6 separate regions of the Homo sapiens genome follow, and all the other regions are linked to region 4. The links are contacts of gene promoters, found by promoter capture Hi-C in blood cells and fetal thymus (Javierre and others, 2016). All regions are on one chromosome and are shown on one strand. Each heading gives the region's core, a stretch centred on a gene start or on the middle of the fragment in contact. The rest is flanking DNA. Distances are from core to core; before and after follow the strand shown. Region 1 overlaps LANCL2 (LanC like glutathione S-transferase 2). Region 2 holds the start of NIPSNAP2 (nipsnap homolog 2). Region 3 overlaps C7orf25 (chromosome 7 open reading frame 25). Region 4 holds the start of HUS1 (HUS1 checkpoint clamp component). Region 5 overlaps SEC61G (SEC61 translocon subunit gamma). Region 6 overlaps CDK13-DT (CDK13 divergent transcript).

Region 1 (2,700 bases), core at 187-2,686, 7.4 Mb after region 4:
AACCTACCAGCTCATGCTGTGCACCTTTGGGCCTCAGCAAGATTGAAAATTGTCATCTATCATAGCCTGGGTCTCCAGATTCGTAAGTTTATGCTTGAAACTTCAAACAGGAGCTCTGAACACTTAATTCATGATTACCAAGGGCTTACTATAATTCATTTCTATTTCTTTTTCCCACTTAACTTTACTGCTTTCTGAGAACAGGAATTTTTTCTTGAACATACTTGAGTTATTATTTTTTAATTTTTTAAATATTTATTTATTTATTTATTTATTTATTTATTTGAGACAGGGTCTCATTCTGTTTCCCAGACTGGACCACACTGGCACAATCATAGCTCACTGCAGCCTTGACCTCCCAGGCTCAAGAGATCCTCCCACCTCAGCCTCCCAAGTAGCTGGGACTGCAGGTGTACTCCACCACACCCAGCTAATTTTTAAATTTTTTGTGTGTGGAGATGGGGTCCTGCCATGTTGCCCAGGCTAGTCCTGAATTCCTGGGCCCAAGCAATTCTCCTGTCCTGCCTCAGCTTCCCAAAGTGTTGGGATTACAGGTGCAAGCCATTGCACCCAGGGAGTTATTTTTAAACATCCTCACTGCTTGATACTGAAATAAGAACGCAGTAGGTAGTAAATGTTTGTTGACTGAATAAATCTATGGAAATTAAAAAAATTTTTTTATGAGAGGCATTTTTTGCATTTTATTTAATGATACAATTTTGTATTTTAAAAGCTATTCTGTATCTAGAATGTTACATCTTGGACTCTTAGATGACATTCCAGGCTACTGTAAGTCAAGAACTATGTAATATGCTTTGGGAGTTCTGGGTGAGGAGTGTGCTTTGTAAGGACAACTAGCAGTTGGCTAGGGCCAGACTAGGTTTTGAGCAAATTTTGCTTGAATAGAATTGCATATAACAAACCGAGTTTCTTTTTCAGAAAATGTTCCTGTCTTTTATAGATTTTAGTTAGTACCATGCAGCAATTGTTTAATCAAAATGAAACCTAACTTTTCACTGAGAGCTTTCCATAATTAAAGATAATTTGACCACAAAATCCTGCTATCTCCATGGGTTCCTTGTCTCTTGAACTGTAATTACATATGTTTTGAGCCCTTGTTTGCAGTTTATTAATACATTGTCACTTAACAGTTTGTCCTTGGTTCTTTATTGCAATTGTAAACTTCCTTGTGGTTATGCCATATATCCCCTACGAAGCATACATAGCAGATGAATTTTTATGATACACATCAAAATTGGATTGAGGTGTGTGTGCTTAGGATATGTAATCTAGAATATTTTCTGTTATATTACTGAGTTTGAAATAAGAAAACAGAAGCAGACCAGATTATGTAAATCTATGACTATTTTTAGCAGAATGAACTATTTTCAAACACCTCTGCAAAATAGCGTTATCTTGATAGAGTCAGTTTAGGTAAGGACCTGTTTATTGAAAATACCACTAGTGAAGGTAGATGTTTTCACTACCATCTAATTCTTTACTGTCAGAAGATATAGCTTCCCCACCCCTGCCTGCTTTTCCCATGTAGTAATTAGCTTTGAGGTAAGGATTGGGGGACTTTTGTTTTATTCATTTTGTTTGCAAAATGGAACAAAGCAAGCCCACACTCTTGCTAGGTATGTAACATCACATCACATCTTCATGTGTCTAACATTACAAGTGAATTAGCCTAGGAGAGCTGAATTAGGAAATGCACTTCCCCAACCCATACCCCTCAGCAGAAGGGTTTGTTAAAATCTTTCCTAAGAAAAGAATTACTTTATGGTATACAGTTTGCAAAGTTTGCACATCATCACATATGTAAAATGTGAGTCAAAAAGCTATTTTTATCATCTTTAAAATGTAGGCAAGTTATTTTCTCTTAGCTTCAGTTTCTGCATGTGTACCATGATGATAATGCTGCTTTAGGATTATCAAGAGGATTAAGTTAGATTAAGTGTCTCAAATACCCCATTTATTAGGAGTGTAGTAGATGATTTTATTAAGCTCTCCTGATGCATTTCAAGTATTATTCATACCTAAATGTTCAATTTATGCATAACTATTCAAAACGTACCTTTTTCTTCTTAGGAGCTATTTATTATGTGCATGTTGAACACTTGTTTTTAGACTTTTCACTCTCCTCTATTTGTAGTTAAGATCATCATAATTTTTTACAAGTTAATTGTCAAATCTTTAAAGTTTTCTGTATTTTTATGTATAGCAGTTGTATTTCCTCAAACTAGCACTAAATTTATCATAAAAAATACAGAAGAACACAAGTATTTTAGAAAGAGAATGATTGCATATTCCGTAGTTTTCAGATGGAATGACTTGTTTCCTCAGGAATGCCCATGGCATTCTCCTAAATGCATTTTAAATACCATCTCTGTCCTTCAGCACAGAATGCCCCCCTGCTTTTCACACAGCGAGCTCCTGTCTTTCTCTGAGACGCCTGTGAGAGGCTTCTTCCTCCAGGGTCTTCCTCAGAGTTGCCCAGGCAGACTCTGTTGCTTGGCCATTCCAAAGCCACTTGAAGGATTAGCTAAGAAAGTTGTATTTTTCCGTTGTTGCCATAAATACCACCAATTTTGCAGTTTAAAGCAGCACCTATTTATTTATCATCTTTAAAATGAAGTCAGAAGTCCAGGTACAGTCTGGCTCTGCTGGCTCCTCTGCTTAGAATTTCATAAGGCCAAA
Region 2 (2,791 bases), core at 266-2,765, 8.0 Mb after region 4:
GTGATCCGCCCGCCTCGGCCACCCGAAGTGCTGGGATTACAGACGTGAGCCACCGTGCCTGGCTCATTTGTGGCTTTTTAAAAAATCTTCCTGGAGGACACATTTTTCCCTCTATAGCGCCAGCCACCCAGATCCACGCCTTTGCTTAAGTTATTTCCTCAAGACAGGGATGCCCTCCCTTCTTCCCCTGGGACTGATATGTCCTGCCAGCTCCTTGGAGAACTTTCTCCCCATCTATCCTCTAATTCACAGCCACCCCCGGTTACATGCTCTCTTTCCGTGCCTCTTTCGTGTCTCATGAACCTGTCCATTTTGACACTTAACACACTCGGTCCAATCATCATTGTACATTCTGTCCCCACTAGACCCAGACGGCCTTGAGGGTAAGGTACCAAGGACTCCCCATGGCCAGTGCCCACCGGTGCTGAAATGAATGGGAACGATGCAGTCCCAAGACCTCAAGAGAACCTTCCCAGTCCTTTCTCCTTAATTTTTTTTGTGTGTGTATGGTGTTTTTTAATTTTTTCCTCACTTGCTTTCTTTTCTTTTCCTTTCTCTCTTTCTTTCTTTCTCCTGCCTCCCTCCCTTCCTTTCTTTCTCCTTCCTTCCCTCCTTTCTTTCTCCTGCCTCCCTTCCTTCCTCCTTTCTTTCTCCTTCCTTCCTTCCTTTCCCTCCCTTTCTTTCTCTCTCTTTCTCTCTTTCTTTCTTTCGCTACAGGACGTCGTGTGTTTGCCCAGGCTGGAGTGCAGTGGCACGATCATAGTTCACTACAGCCTCCACCTCCTGAACTCAAGCGATCCTTCTGCCTCAGTCTCCAGTGTAGCTGGCATCACAGACGTGCTCCTCCATGCCCGGCTAATTTAAAAATGTTTTTGCACAGTGAGGGCTCGCTATGTTGCCCAGGTTGGTCTCGAACTCCTGGCCTCAAGAGATCTCCGGCCTCAGCCTCCCAAAGTGCTGGGATGACAGGCGTGAGCTATTGCGTCCGGCCCCAGAATGCACTTGTTAAAGCGTTGTGGGGCTTTTTGAAATGACAATATATTCATATACTACAAAATTTAAAAGACATTGGCGGGGTGGGGTGGGGGTAAACCCACTGCCACTGCCCCGCCCCAGGCCCTGGATTCCCCTAGGCACAGTGTTACTCTTTCCTTTTGGAGTTTTCCCTGATCATTGAAGTTATGCCCTTGTCCCTTCTGCACCCGCGCTTCTGGGCACCGAGCTCCTCCCGCTGAAGTGATCGGCTTGCACTGACTGCGCTTGGGCTTCGCGCTTTCCCGCAGCGGCCGGGCCTTGGCGCCTGGACGCCCCGCCGACCCCCGCGGCCGCGCGCCCTGCTCCCCCTGGCGGCCGCGCCCCGCACTGCAGTGGCCGCGTTGGGGCCCGGCCGGGGGAGGGGTCGCGCGGCGGCGGCGTCAGCGGCGGCGCCCGGGCGGTGGGAGCCGAGGCGCCGAGCAAGATGGCGGCGCGAGTGCTGCGCGCCCGCGGAGCGGCCTGGGCCGGCGGCCTCCTGCAGCGGGCGGCCCCCTGCAGCCTCCTGCCCAGGCTCCGGTGAGCAGCGCCGCCCTTCCCGGGAGGTGCCGGGGAGGGGCCGCCGCGAGGCGGAGGGCGCGGGTTTCCCGGCGCCGGTCTCCGCCCCGGCCCTGTCCCCAGCGCGGGTGGCTGCCCGGCCTCGGGGCAGTGGGGCCGGAGCTGGGGTGGGGCCGGAGCTGGGGCGGGGTCGGGGCGTCCTCGGGCTCAAGGTCACGGAGGGGACGGGCCGCTCTGCGGCTCCACCCTCGCCCGGGAAGGCCCCCGAGGCTTGGCCCGGAGGCCACATCCTCCCCGCGGCGCTGGCCCGGCCTGCAGGGCCCTGACCGGCGCGACCCGTGGCCAGGGACAGGGACAGCGCGCGCCTGAGGCCGCAGGCCCCGGACGCCGTCTGCTGGGTCCTCGCCGGAGGCTGTTCCAAGCCTGAGTGGCTGCGTCTGCCGAGGACGTTGGTGACCCTGGTCTCTGAGGTGCCGGGAGTAGGGAATAAAAGAGTAAAGCATTGTCCCGGGCCAGCTCTCCGCGGAGCGTAGGGGAAGTTAGAGCTTGGAGGAGGTCAAATCACTTAACGTCTTGGAGTTGAAATTTAAAGCCGGCCGTGGATCTAAAAGTACTTAGAGTTATCAGCACTAAGTTCAGGCGTGGGGCTCTTGTTTAAACTTTTTTTTTTTTCTAACTTCAGTGGATTGGACGTTTGGTTGTCCAAATTCATCACCTTGATATTTGCATGTGCTGTTTTCCACATTCAAACAGCAAAGCCTATCCTGACTTACCCAGAGTTGCTTTCTCGTATTCATTGCTTTGGGTAGTTTAAATTACCTAAGGAACTGTGTGTTAAACTCGCCATGGGCCAGGGAGGTTTCAGTAACATGGTTTATTATTATTATTATTGTTGTTGTTTATTTATTTATATTTTTGAGACGGAGTTTTGCTCTCGTTGCCCCGGCTGAAGTGCAACGGCACGATCTTGTCTCACTGCAACCTCCGCCTCCCGGGTTCAAGTAATTCTCCTGCCTCATCCTCCCAAGTAGCTGGGATTACAGGCATGCACCACCACACCCGGCTAATTTTTGTATTTTTAGTAGAGACGGGGTTTCACCATGTTGGTCAGGCTGATCTCGAACTCCTGACCTCAGGTGATCCACCTGCCGCGGCCTCCCAAAGTGCAGGGATTACAGTCGTGAATCACCAGGCGCGGCCTGATCTTTTTAAAAAGATGAGTCTGACTTGGGAGAGGGGGCAGAATTAAGGGTAGTGGCCA
Region 3 (2,771 bases), core at 188-2,687, 5.1 Mb before region 4:
TTGCATTATTTATTACATTGTTAGGAGTTGCAATCACTGGAATGCTTGAAAAAACATCATGGTCTTTGGCAGGGCACAGCTGTGGTCACTTCACAAAGCAGTTTCCTAAAGAGTGCTGTGGCCTGTCCACTTTCTAGTTGGCAAAGATCCCAAGTTCTTAGGTATTGATTGATTCATAGGGAGCAGGGATAGAAATCTACCTTCTTTCTGCTCCTTTAAAACAAGTCTTTTATATGCCATGCCCTTTGTACTGTGTCTGACACATGGCTGTCACTCAATGCTTATTAAACGAATGAGTACATTAATATGTCAATTCTGCCTCAAACAAATCCAACATGTATCCATGACTCTACAGTCCATCATTCCTGCTCTAGCTAAGGTCATTATAGTCCAAACTTTCTTTCAATTTTTATCCACACTACAGATTTTTGTGGTTTCCTTAAGAGACCTGATCATAAGCCACACTTTCTTAAAAATCACCAATGGCTCTCTAATGCCAAACTCTTTAGAGAACTTTGACTTTTTTTTCTAGCTCCATCTTGTTTTATAAACTGTCCACTTGAGCCTGGTCCCTGAACAGGTCCTCATAGTCACAGTTCTGGTACTTTTCCAATCCCATTCCTCCATGTACTTTTGAGTACCCTTTCTCACACATCTTGTGAAATTTCACACCCCAAACCCTCAAACAACACTTCCTCTCTGACTTCCTGGCCCCATAACAAGTACTCCTTTACTCTGTCCCCATAGTATTTTCAACATATCCTAGAGAATTTAGTACATTTAATTGCACTTCAGTTGTTTACTTCCACTTTAGACTTAAGAATTCCTTAGAGCAAACATTCATCTTTTCACACCAAACTATTATAATGCTTGGTACTTAATAGTATCAAGTACTACATGACCTTAATAGATGCTCAAAAAGCTTAAATTCCATTTCTAACACTAGACATATACCACTCTACACTAAACTGGAAGCAAATCACAGCCTTTCTACTAGAAAATGTATTCTGACTTAGTAAAGCAATCTCTCCCCAGAGAACCACCCCCATACACTTAATTTTGCATTCATTTCAGGGTGTTCATGAATGCCAATAACCAAATTCCACCCCAACAAACACTGTGGCTGTAAATTGAGATTCTCTTCTCAACAAATACGACATTTGGCATGGTAGAAAGAGATCAGACTGTGGCTAGAAACATCAAGTTTTAATACCAGCTCCTACACTTAGCATGAGTTAATATTTAAGCTCCAGGACTCAAATTCCAAATTTTTAAATGTGGTGAATACATACCGACTTTGCTAGTTTTGCTTTATTGAAAACTGATAAAGTATCTAGCGCAATGTAGCCATAGAAGTGTATTTTTAACTACAACTTGTGTCATGGAATTGGCATGGAATATTCTGTCACCATCTCATGAAAGTAAGGTAATGCAGTTGTCACTTGCCACTTGCAAATGAAACATGAAAATAGTATTTATTGTTCAAATACTTATAATATGGGGGCTTTCTGTATTGAATTTTTAAAATCTTTTACATAATCCTTTTTCAATTCATTCAAATTAGTATTTTACCTTAAGTGTCCTGGTTTTATCTTATAGTAGTAAGATTGTTGGCTTTCTTTTCACAAAGGTCTACCAATGGGTTCATGGCACTCAAATAACCATAATTCACTTTCTCATTTCTTCTGTATTATGTACTTTTTGTAAAAACACCTATCAGACTGCACCTGACATACAGCAAATAAGTTTTTCATTAATGGTTAACCTTAGAATCTAAAATTGATTACCAACGACTACCTCCCAGCCTAAACCATATAAAGCAATACAATGAAAAACAGGCTTGAATTTTCTCCAGATATTTAATGCAAGATGCAATGTAGCCATATTCCATGAAATGTGGTTAGCAGTAGGGGAGTTGTAGCCCTATCGAATCAAAGTATTACAATACAGCTGAAAGCTTTATATAGACGTATTTCGGTTCTTAATTGCACTAATGCAGACAGTTTGATAGATAAGCTTCTCTCTTGTGCTTTTTCTACTTTGGGAGGTTATATACTTTAGATGAGAGACAAAGAAACTCTACTGGTTTAAGAGTTCTCAGTTTTACTTTTACTATAGACCTTTTTTCCCACCAGTTTAGATGGGAAGACCCAGCCTTTGGTATAAATAACTTACTTCCACAAAAATATTTAAAGGGTATCTTTAGTGTTCACTGTCAGTTGTGTAGTCTTTTGGTAAGGGGGTGGCTAGAGCCTCTTTACTCTCAGTAAGTGCTCTGGGCTGATGGATAAACACACTAAATTTAACACCCTGGTTGTTTGCAGCTCTGACAAAACCACTATTAGCAGTCATTGTGATGGCTTTTAGGGTGTCTCCCGTCCCAAAAATTGTTAATGAGCGGCTATTAATTTTTGAACTGGCCACTAGTCTCAAGGCACGCTCAGAAGGCTGGTCTGGTACCACATTAATTCGCTTAATTAACACAGTGGCCCTCTCTCTCTCCCCAGGTCCTCCTAAGGTATCTAAAATAGACTGAAAGTCCTTGACAGCAGATTCACAAGCAAACAACTCCTTGTCCTTCATAAAGGCCTCCAGCTGAGGTAGAACCTGCTCTTTCCTCTCTTGCTCTGCTTGTTCTGTGAGCACTTTCTCTTTGAAAATAAAGTGGCAGCCTCCATAGCTGAGGGCAGATACATATGTGATTAAAGTAGTAATGTCCAGATTTACTCTTTTGCACACATCGACCTTAATTTCTGTTGGAAACGCAACAC
Region 4 (2,991 bases), core at 263-2,762:
CATGTCAAAGGTGAAAATGGATAGAGAAACCATGATTTCTAGACAAGGTGACAATACCACTACAAGAAACAGAGAGGCTGGAAGTTTCACGGCTTGGAAAAAGCAGCATTCTAGCTGAATGCATATGATAACAACACAATTTTAAAATGAGGAGGAACTGACTCTAATGCAAAATATAGTTATGGACCAGATCTTTAAATTTAAATAAACCAAACAGCTTTCAACAGTATTTATTGTTAAAAAGGCTAGGCTAACTATGTCTATTCCTTCGAGGCCAAGACTTCTGTGTTAGAAACCCTGACTCTCCTACTCACCAGCTCCACGGAGACCGTGAGGCAGGGAAAGTGTTTATTAGTCAGTTTGATTTTCAAAGCCCTGGCATTCTGGGCAGTCTTCAAGGCTCGAGATAAGTTTTCCGATGTTAGCTCTAAATAAATCTCATTGTTTTCTGCAGAGACACCCTCCATTTGAAATTCGTTGAAGAAGTTCTCCTAAGGGAAAAAAAATGAGGGATGAGGGAGGGTATATGTGATCTTTCCAGTGACAATCTGCAGAGTGTGCAGGCCTCTCAGAAGCTTTTGCTCACCTGTTCCAGCTCACACCACATGCTCACTCCTCCATTAGCCAGCTTGTCACAAAGGATGAAGTTAAGCTTATCAGGGCTGATGCGGAGGGTGCAGGTTTTGGCAAGCTTGGCTATCATGTTACTGATTCCTAAAGCAGGGGTTAAAATAAGGAATTACTAAAATGCACATTATGTATCCTAGAGACCAACTTATTTTGCAGAATTTCTTGTTCATCAACTTCTCGGTGGAAAAATAACCACTTAACGTTGGTATCACACTGGAAAGTACTTTAATACCCCTGATGTCACGCAATTCTCCCAACAAACTAGGGGAGATGTACAGCACACATCATCAGTGTTCAAATAAGAAAACAGGCACCTACCAGTCATTCATTCATTCAACATGGATTTATTGACTACTAGGTACTGCAATACACAGTTAAATGCAAGGTTAGGCACTGTCAGGGTGGAGGGACGAATGGGGCCTTGAAGGTATGTCAATGCCTGATAAAGCCGTCTATGGGAGCAGTGGCCGCTTTTTTTTAAAGCCACGTGATCGGAATCAAGTTTCAGAAACGTCCCTTGAAAGCCGCCTTCATCCCCACAAGTGCCCTCCGACCCGCCCCGCGCCCTCCCGGCCCCACCCTCCCGCGGCCTACACCAGCACCCCCATCCCGGCCCCATCCTCCCGCGGCCCCTTCCGGCGCCCATCCCCGTTCTGATCCTCCTGCGCGGTCCCCACCGCGCGCTCACTGCTTCCTTCCGTTCCTCCCTCGCTCCTCTCCGGCCTCCCTGCTCACGTGTGAAGTGGTTCAGACAGGCCCCGTCCACGATCTTGGCCCGAAACTTCATGGCCGCGGATGGCGCAGCCGCGGCGGGCCTCTGTGGGTAACAGAAAAGCGTCGCGCCCTGAGTGTCCCCGCCCGGAAACACGGCAGCGCGAACAGTGGTTCCGCCCGGCTCGGGCTACGCGACTCTTACCAGGGTTATCTCCGGGCCACGCCCCGGAGGAGGTGGGGCTAGGGGGTCACGCCCTAGAGGAGGTGGGGTCACGGGTCAAGGATCACAGGTCACGCCCCGGGGGAGGTGGGGGTCCCAGTCTCCGGGTATGCCTCCGCGCTGCCGGGTAATGGTGGGATCTACTTTTAGTGAGGCGGAGGCTTCAAGCCCCAGATTCGGGGAGGTTGTTCTGAGAATTCACGTTTTGAAAGAATTTTGTGACACCTATTTCAAGTGTTATTTTAAAATATCCAAATAAAATTAATCGTTTATAAAGGTTAAACAATATTATCTTAAATATACCTAAGGTAGAGCAGCTTTAAACCCTCCAGCCTCAGATGACGGTACTGGTACTTTGGTATTGAAGCATCTTGGTGGATTAAGGTTCTGAAAATTGTTTCAAATGACTTCTAAAAAAATTGAACATATTACTGGCTAGTTGGTAAAGTCGGGAAGCTTAAAGAACACTGACGTTAAGTGATAATTCTGCAGTTTGCCTCAAGACGAACTTTATTACATCCGATAAAATTCTTATTAGCATAAATAATGTCATTAGGATTTTTTTTAAAGGAAAAATTTTAAAGGGGGAAATGAAGCAACAATTGTATCTAATTTGGTTTTTCAAAGACTAAAGATTATCTGTGTTAACAATTGTTATTTTTAATGTCCTTTGCAAATAGACTAGAACCTTGTCTTTAACTTGACACATAGAATCAAGATAATGATAATGCAGATGATGATGATGATGATTTTGAGACGGAGTCTGGCTCTGTCGCCCTGGCTGGAGTGCAATGGCGTGATCTTGGCCCACTGCAACCTCCACCTCCCGGGTTCGAGGGATTCTCCTGCCTCAGCTTCCCAAGTAGTTGGGATTACAGGCACAAGCTACCATGCCCGGCTAATTTTTGTATTATTAGTAGAGACGGGGTTTCGCCATGTTGGCCAGGCTGGTCTCGAACTCCTGACCTCAGGTGATCTGCCCACCTCGGCCTCCCAAAGTGCTGGGATTATAGGCGTGAGCCACCGCGCCAGGCCCAGATAATTTTCAAAGACACATGCACACATATGTTTATTGTGGCACTATTCACAATAGCAAAGACTTGGAACCATCCCAAATGTCCATCAATAATAGACTGGATAAGGAAAATGTGGCACATATACACCATGGAATACTATGCAGCCATAAAAAAGGATGAGTTCATGTCCTTTGCAGGGACATGGATGAAGCTGGAAACCATCATTCTCAGCAAAATATCACAAGGACAGAAAACCAAACACCGCATGTTCTCACTCATAAGTGGGAGTTGAACAATGAGAACACATGGACACAGGGAGGGGAATATCACACACTGGGGCCTGTTGGGGGGTGGAGGCCTGGGGGAGGGATAGCGTTAGGAGAAATACCTAATGTAAATGATGAGTTGATG
Region 5 (2,729 bases), core at 28-2,527, 6.8 Mb after region 4:
TTAGAAAAAAAAGAAGAAAAAAATCTTAAGAAAAAACTGATAATTCAACCCAATGAGTTATTTCCCTTGCTACCATCTCAAAATGATTTAAACAATGATTATCCTCTTTCAAGCAGGGAAAGCAAGATTCCTTTCAGTTTTACAGCTGTCCTGGCATAACATGAGAAAAGAGTAAGTTTTCTGTAGTGTCTCTCACAAAATGTTTTAATTGGCCTTCATGTTAAGGTAAAAAATATCTAAAGATAGATTTTTTAACTTCTTAAACATTGAAACCATTTTTTTTAACTAGAAGAAAAGTTTTCTAAGTAACTAGCTTCTGAAAGATTTCCCGTGTTGCTCTATCACTAGCCATGCAATCTGAGTAGATTACTTAGCCTCCCCATGCCTGTTTCCTCATGAAGATTAAATGAGTTGACACACAGTCATGGAAAGTTCTCAATGAATGTTAACTATTATTATTGCCACCATCACCATTAAAAAGACAAGAACCTGAAGTTGTTCACTTAATTCAACAAACACTTATTCAGTGCTTTTAACGGATACAAGGGGGCTCTGGACCAGACTCTATAGGAGAGACATACAATATAAATAACAAGGCAGGCCTGCCTCACAACTCATAATCTAATATGAAAAGACGGACCTGAGTATGACCCAAGGCAGACAATGATGTCTGGCAAAAGGGACAAAAATATAGGTTAAGTGAAGGCCGGGGAAAAAATTTGAAAGGTGCTTGTATACCAAAAAATTGGAAAAGGTGGGCTTACGTGTTCTTCTGAAAGGTACAACTAAGAACAATGAAGGGTGATTATCACAGGAAACTAATTTTGTTATCATTTTAAAGAAACACTTCCTATCAATAAATCTGTCTCATGACAGAATGGGAAGCAGAAAGAGCAGAGGCACCGAGTATGAAAAAGAAGGGACTTGACAGAGACTCTGCCACTTCTTTTTACTGATTTCCTCATTCTACTTCAGTATTCTCCCCGTGATTCCACAGTTCTACAGTTGGCATTTCTCACTGGTAAAATACAAGGGATTTCTGAACTGACAAATGAGATATCAGTGACTTGGGCCCATCTAGTTCTAACTATTTATGATCCTGAATATCACTTTGTGGCACTTCTGCCTTAATAACTATGGTAACCTACTTCAGAAATCCCTCTGACAATATACATTGTTACTTGTCATTTAAAAGGCAACCTGTACCAGTACCTGGGATAAAATACCTAGTATTTAGGAGATTTATAGTTTAGAAATTTTTTAAATCATTGCTTCAAACTTCACCACCCCATAAAATCAATTGATATTACTGATTGATTTCAATACCATATGGAAGTTCTCAATGAATGTTAATTATTATTGCCACCATCACCATCAGAAAAGGCAAAGAACCTGAAGTTGTTCACTTAATTCAACTAACACTTATTCAGTGCTTTTAATGGATACAAGCACTGATACACCTGATATTATTATCAGGTAATAATAGATTTTATTACCTCCAAACAGTGGATGAGGCTGAGATTAAATGCATACAAAATCACAAAGTAAGTACTGAAACTCATACTAAGTCCTTACCCTAAACTGAATTACCTAATTGCTCTAATTGCTCAATGCCACAAGGTGTCCCAATGACTTGTAATGAATTTAAAAAGCAAAATTATTTGGAAACAAATAAAGTGATCCCAGTGTTTCTCAGCCTTTTTTGCCTCCTAACATACTTAAAAGTTATGATATTCTCCTATCAGTATCAATGGCTCATTATAGTAACAACTTTCACTTGTATTCTTACCCAAATTGTTTCTGGGGCCTTACATGACTTAAAGTCATAATCCAAGTAAGAACTATTATCCCCACTGAATAAACTGGGCACAGAGAGGTTAGGCAAATTGCCTGAAGCTAGGACAGCTACTGCATAACAAGAAAAAGGTTTTGGATCTAGGCAATCTGGTCCAGAGTTAGAATTCTATCACAGCAGTGATTTTTGGATGGGAAGCATTTGCTCTGCACATTAGAAATTAACAAGGTAACAGCACAAAGAGGACTTAGGTTTCAATGCTGGCTTTGTGACATATGAGTGTCTTTAATACTTTCTTGACTCTGTAAAATTTTATTTATTAAAGAAAATAGTGCCTAGCACACAGAATTTCTGGACAGATCATGTAAGATCTAAAAGCCCTCAATTATCAGGTACTCGTAAATATCAGTAGACTCCAACAGCACTAAAAAGTCAAGAGATGCATCTCTATATTAACGAAATAACAGCCTGTCATCTCAAATGGTTTTGAGTTTCATTCAATCCTAGTCTATTTCATAAAGTTTACTTACACAATGATGTTATTAATAGGAATATGGATCAATTTCACAAAGAAGCCAATGAATCCCATTATAGCAAATCCTATTGCTGTTGCCATGGCAATCTTCTGGAATTCTGCATTTAAAAACAGGAAATTCACATATTTTTTGCACTGTCACTGAAAGTATGGGAAAAAAACTATCAGCAACATAAATGAACTTAACTAGTATACATTTCTCCTGTTAATAGATATATAATTTAAAAATAAAAAGGTGAGACTATTAACAGTAAACAAGTTGTTTGACAGGTTTTAAAATTTCCATGTTTTGTTGATATTTAAGGAAACAAATAATAATGCATATCTGTCCTAGTGAGTTCATCAGCAAGTACTAAAAATATTTTTTCTTCTTAGCAAATGACCAGAAAATACCAAAAA
Region 6 (2,950 bases), core at 229-2,728, 8.0 Mb before region 4:
CTCAAACTCCAGTATTGCATTTGAGTTCCAGATGTAGAGAAAAGTAAGAAGTAAGAGTGAGGGGCAGAAGGTACAGGTCAGCGAAACTGACCTTCCTTTTTTTTTTTGAGATGGAGTTTCGCTCTCGTTGCCCAGGGTGGAGTGCAATGGTGCACTCTGGGCTCACCGCAGCCTCTGCAACCTCTGCCTCCCGGGTTCAAGCGATTCTCCTGCCTCAGCCTCCCGAGTAGCTGGGATTACAGGCATGCGCCACCACACTGGGCTAATTTTGCATTTTTAGTAGAGACGGGGTTTCTCCATGTTGGTCATGGCTGGTCTTGAACTCCCGACTTCAGGTGATCTGCCCGCCTCGACCTCCCAAAGTGCTGGAATTATAGGCGTGAGCCACCGGGCCCGGCCCTGACCTTCCATTTTTTAAGAATCATTTCCATAAGCTTCGCCCAACAACTTCCACTTCACTTCATTGGCAGGAGCCAATGATCACGTCTTATCTGCAAGGAATACTGGGAGATGTAGTTTTTAGCTAGGCACATTTACCCCCATCAAACCCAGGATACTGTTACTTAGGTAATCAAGGGAAAATCCATTTAGGAAGACAGCTAGAAGTTTACTCCACCATTACTGTTTTATAAATACGTATCCCTCAGCTTTACTGAACCAGCAAGAATTCCCACTCCCCAGCACATAGAAGCAATATTGCACTTCTGAAAAAAAAGTGCTAACACTGTGGGCCTCTGAACTGCATAAAAGATGAGTCTGGGGCCTGGTGCAGTGGCTCACGCCTGTCATCCCAGCACTTTGGGAGGCCGAGGCGGGCGGATCACCTGAGGTCAGGAGTTTGAGACCAGCCTGCTCAACATGACAAAACCCCGTTTCTACTAAAAATACAAAAAAATTAGCTCGGCATGGTGGCGGGCAACTGTAATCCCAGCTACACGGGAGGCTGAGGCAGGAGAATCGCTTGAACCTGGGGGGCGGAGGTTGCAGTAAGCCAAGATTGCACCCCTGCACTCCAGCCTAGGCGACAAGAGCAAAACTCTGTCTCAAAAAAAACAAAAACAAAAACAAAACAAAACACGAACTCCCCACCCCCCCACACACAAGCAGTAATAAACAAAAATATAGTCGTAAATGGGAATTTCAAATCTCTTTAATATTCAGGCAAGCAGACAGGCTTATAGAAACAGACGGCTTCTAATTCAAAGGTCCTTCCCATTTTTTGGAGTTTGAATCCTATTAGTTATTAGTGTTTCCAACCACGTGGGCAGGTATCTTGAGCTCAAAATGTTCATTCAACCTCCCCCACCAAAGGTAGAATCTTTGAGGAAACGTGGGTGGTAGAACCACAGTAAAAATATTTTAGTACATGTTTTTTGTTTGCACCCTGGATTGGGAACTATCCATTTACTTTTTTTCCCTTCTTCTCCATTTAATACACTTACACATGGGAATTATCCATTTACTATGGATCAAGTTTTCTTTGAAAATATATGATAGAAGATGACATTCTCAAGTGGAACTGGTTGTACACGAGGGGAGCTGCAAGCTAAACCTCTTATTTGCTCTCTTTGTTCTGTTATTCCAGTCTATCTAACGTAGGACGATGGAACAAGTTGATCCTACATGTTTCTGAAAAAGCCACTTGCTAAACAGTCTTTGGTAGGAGGCTGGCTACAGGACCTTCACTCAACAATACTGTCAACCAGAAATTTGTTTTAGGAACCCTGCCCCCTATTTTTCTATTCAGTTTCCCAATGCCCATCCCATGGTGTTGCCCACCCAGGCCTGCCCTCCTGGGAAATGCTCTGACTTTAAGATTACCTATTCCTTTGCCTCCTCCTTTATCCTTCAGCAAACCAACATCCTTTGTACTCGGTCAGTGAAGTCTGATCTTAGCTTAAATCAGGCCAGTCTGTGATACTGTGATGTCAAACTGATTAAAATAATTTACACTAAGGTATTAACGATGGATAGATACCAAGTGTTTAAGAACTAAACCAACTGATGATCTGAACAAATGAATTTTCAAAGGGGTTACTACATTTAGTCATTGAACAGACGGCTTAGCTTTTTCTTTTATTAGAGGCAGGGCCTCGCCCTGCTGATTGGCCAGGCTGGGGTGCTGTGGCACGGTCATGGCTCACTCCAGCCTCGAACTCTTGAGCTCCAGAGATCCTCCTGCCTCAGCCTCCGGAGTAGCTGGGACTACAGGCGTGTGCCACTGCACAGGGTTAGCTTGCGTTTCCAACCATTCTAAAAGCCAATAAGCCATTTACATTTTAATCTAATTATCCCGAGTGCTTAGTCTGTAACTGAAGGGCAATTCTAAGGCAAGAAATGAGATGTGAGGTCACTATATGGCTATGTTTGGCAACCCCAAAGGTTTAGATATGAAGGTGAAAGTGGGTGAAGTACTAAGAGGGCAGTCCTCATTCGCACAAGATGTTTTTATTTCAAGCCTCCTGAGAATTTGGAATTTTCAGTAGTTCCTTTTAACATTCCACTTATTTCCTGTATTGATTTAAAGCTTTAAAAATTTTTATTTTAAAGTAAATAGTGTTACCGAAGCTTGAGCTGTGATTCCCAAGTGTGTTTTTTAGGATAAGAAGGGGCCTCGCGGAAGTTGCGGTGAGCCGAGATCGCACCATTGCACTCCAGCCTGGGCAACGAGAGCGAAACTCAGTCTCAAAAAAAAAAAAAAAAAAAATGGGGCCTCGAACTTTGGCGTACGTGAGACAAGTTAAACCAACGCCATCTCCACCCTGTTTTGCGGGGTGTTTTCTCTCCTTTCGCAGCTGTTCCACTCCCAGGGCTTGACTGAAGGTACACGGGGGGTAACTGCCTACTCCAGAAGGCCACCAACAGCATTATTTCCCTCGCAGTCTCCAGAAACACTTGTTCTCACTGTGACCTTTCGCTCAACAGGCAGGCAGTGCGGCGTCTGCAGAGC

What was found. The method cuts DNA at HindIII sites, captures the fragments that hold promoters and counts their contacts. A CHiCAGO score of 5 or more calls a contact.
Region 1: a fragment that was not itself captured here is called in contact with the fragment with the promoter of HUS1 in region 4 in 2 of 17 cell types (total CD4 T cells and non-activated CD4 T cells); the score reaches 10.6 in total CD4 T cells.
Region 2: a fragment that was not itself captured here is called in contact with the fragment with the promoter of HUS1 in region 4 in 4 of 17 cell types (total CD4 T cells, total CD8 T cells, activated CD4 T cells and 1 more); the score reaches 10.5 in total CD4 T cells.
Region 3: a contact is called between a fragment that was not itself captured here and the fragment with the promoter of HUS1 in region 4, in 7 of 17 cell types (fetal thymus, non-activated CD4 T cells, activated CD4 T cells and 4 more). The highest score is 17.0, in fetal thymus.
Region 5: a contact is called between a fragment that was not itself captured here and the fragment with the promoter of HUS1 in region 4, in 3 of 17 cell types (naive CD8 T cells, fetal thymus and total CD4 T cells). The highest score is 11.0, in naive CD8 T cells.
Region 6: a contact is called between a fragment that was not itself captured here and the fragment with the promoter of HUS1 in region 4, in 5 of 17 cell types (total CD4 T cells, activated CD4 T cells, non-activated CD4 T cells and 2 more). The highest score is 17.5, in total CD4 T cells.

Annotation. Positions count from the first base shown.
Region 1 is chr7:55,373,024-55,375,723 of GRCh38, forward strand. All of the region lies in intron 1 of LANCL2 (LanC like glutathione S-transferase 2), which reads left to right. Among named protein-coding and RNA genes, the nearest start is that of LANCL2, 9.0 kb to the left of the region's middle. The HindIII fragment of the contact is 3,931 bases long and covers 1-2,700 here.
Region 2 is chr7:55,963,151-55,965,941 of GRCh38, forward strand. It overlaps NIPSNAP2 (nipsnap homolog 2), which reads left to right and starts at 1,435. Exons shown (of 10, transcript NM_001483.3): 1 at 1,435-1,551. The coding sequence starts at 1,460. RefSeq lists enhancers at 1,095-1,174, 1,744-2,477 and silencers at 1,325-1,434, 1,495-1,974. The HindIII fragment of the contact is 4,881 bases long and covers 1-2,791 here.
Region 3 is chr7:42,907,433-42,910,203 of GRCh38, forward strand. It overlaps C7orf25 (chromosome 7 open reading frame 25), which reads right to left. Exons shown (of 2, transcript NM_001099858.2): 2 at 1,841-2,771. The coding sequence ends at 2,203. Among named protein-coding and RNA genes, the nearest start is that of C7orf25, 3.3 kb to the right of the region's middle. The HindIII fragment of the contact is 1,035 bases long and covers 921-1,955 here.
Region 4 is chr7:47,978,103-47,981,093 of GRCh38, forward strand. It overlaps HUS1 (HUS1 checkpoint clamp component), which reads right to left and starts at 1,513. Exons shown (of 8, transcript NM_004507.4): 1 at 1,366-1,513; 2 at 587-714; 3 at 315-491. The coding sequence starts at 1,417. RefSeq lists silencers at 1,034-1,083, 1,164-1,223 and an enhancer at 1,294-1,583. The HindIII fragment of the contact is 1,329 bases long and covers 690-2,018 here.
Region 5 is chr7:54,753,454-54,756,182 of GRCh38, forward strand. It overlaps SEC61G (SEC61 translocon subunit gamma), which reads right to left. Exons shown (of 4, transcript NM_014302.4): 3 at 2,326-2,428. Among named protein-coding and RNA genes, the nearest start is that of SEC61G, 4.4 kb to the right of the region's middle. The HindIII fragment of the contact is 3,976 bases long and covers 1-2,729 here.
Region 6 is chr7:39,946,389-39,949,338 of GRCh38, forward strand. CDK13-DT (CDK13 divergent transcript) reads right to left here. Exons shown (of 1, transcript NR_158201.1): 1 at 1,133-2,950. Among named protein-coding and RNA genes, the nearest start is that of CDK13-DT, 1.6 kb to the right of the region's middle. RefSeq lists enhancers at 362-656, 2,106-2,295, 2,317-2,950, 2,426-2,475, 2,736-2,865 and 1 more. The HindIII fragment of the contact is 2,093 bases long and covers 433-2,525 here.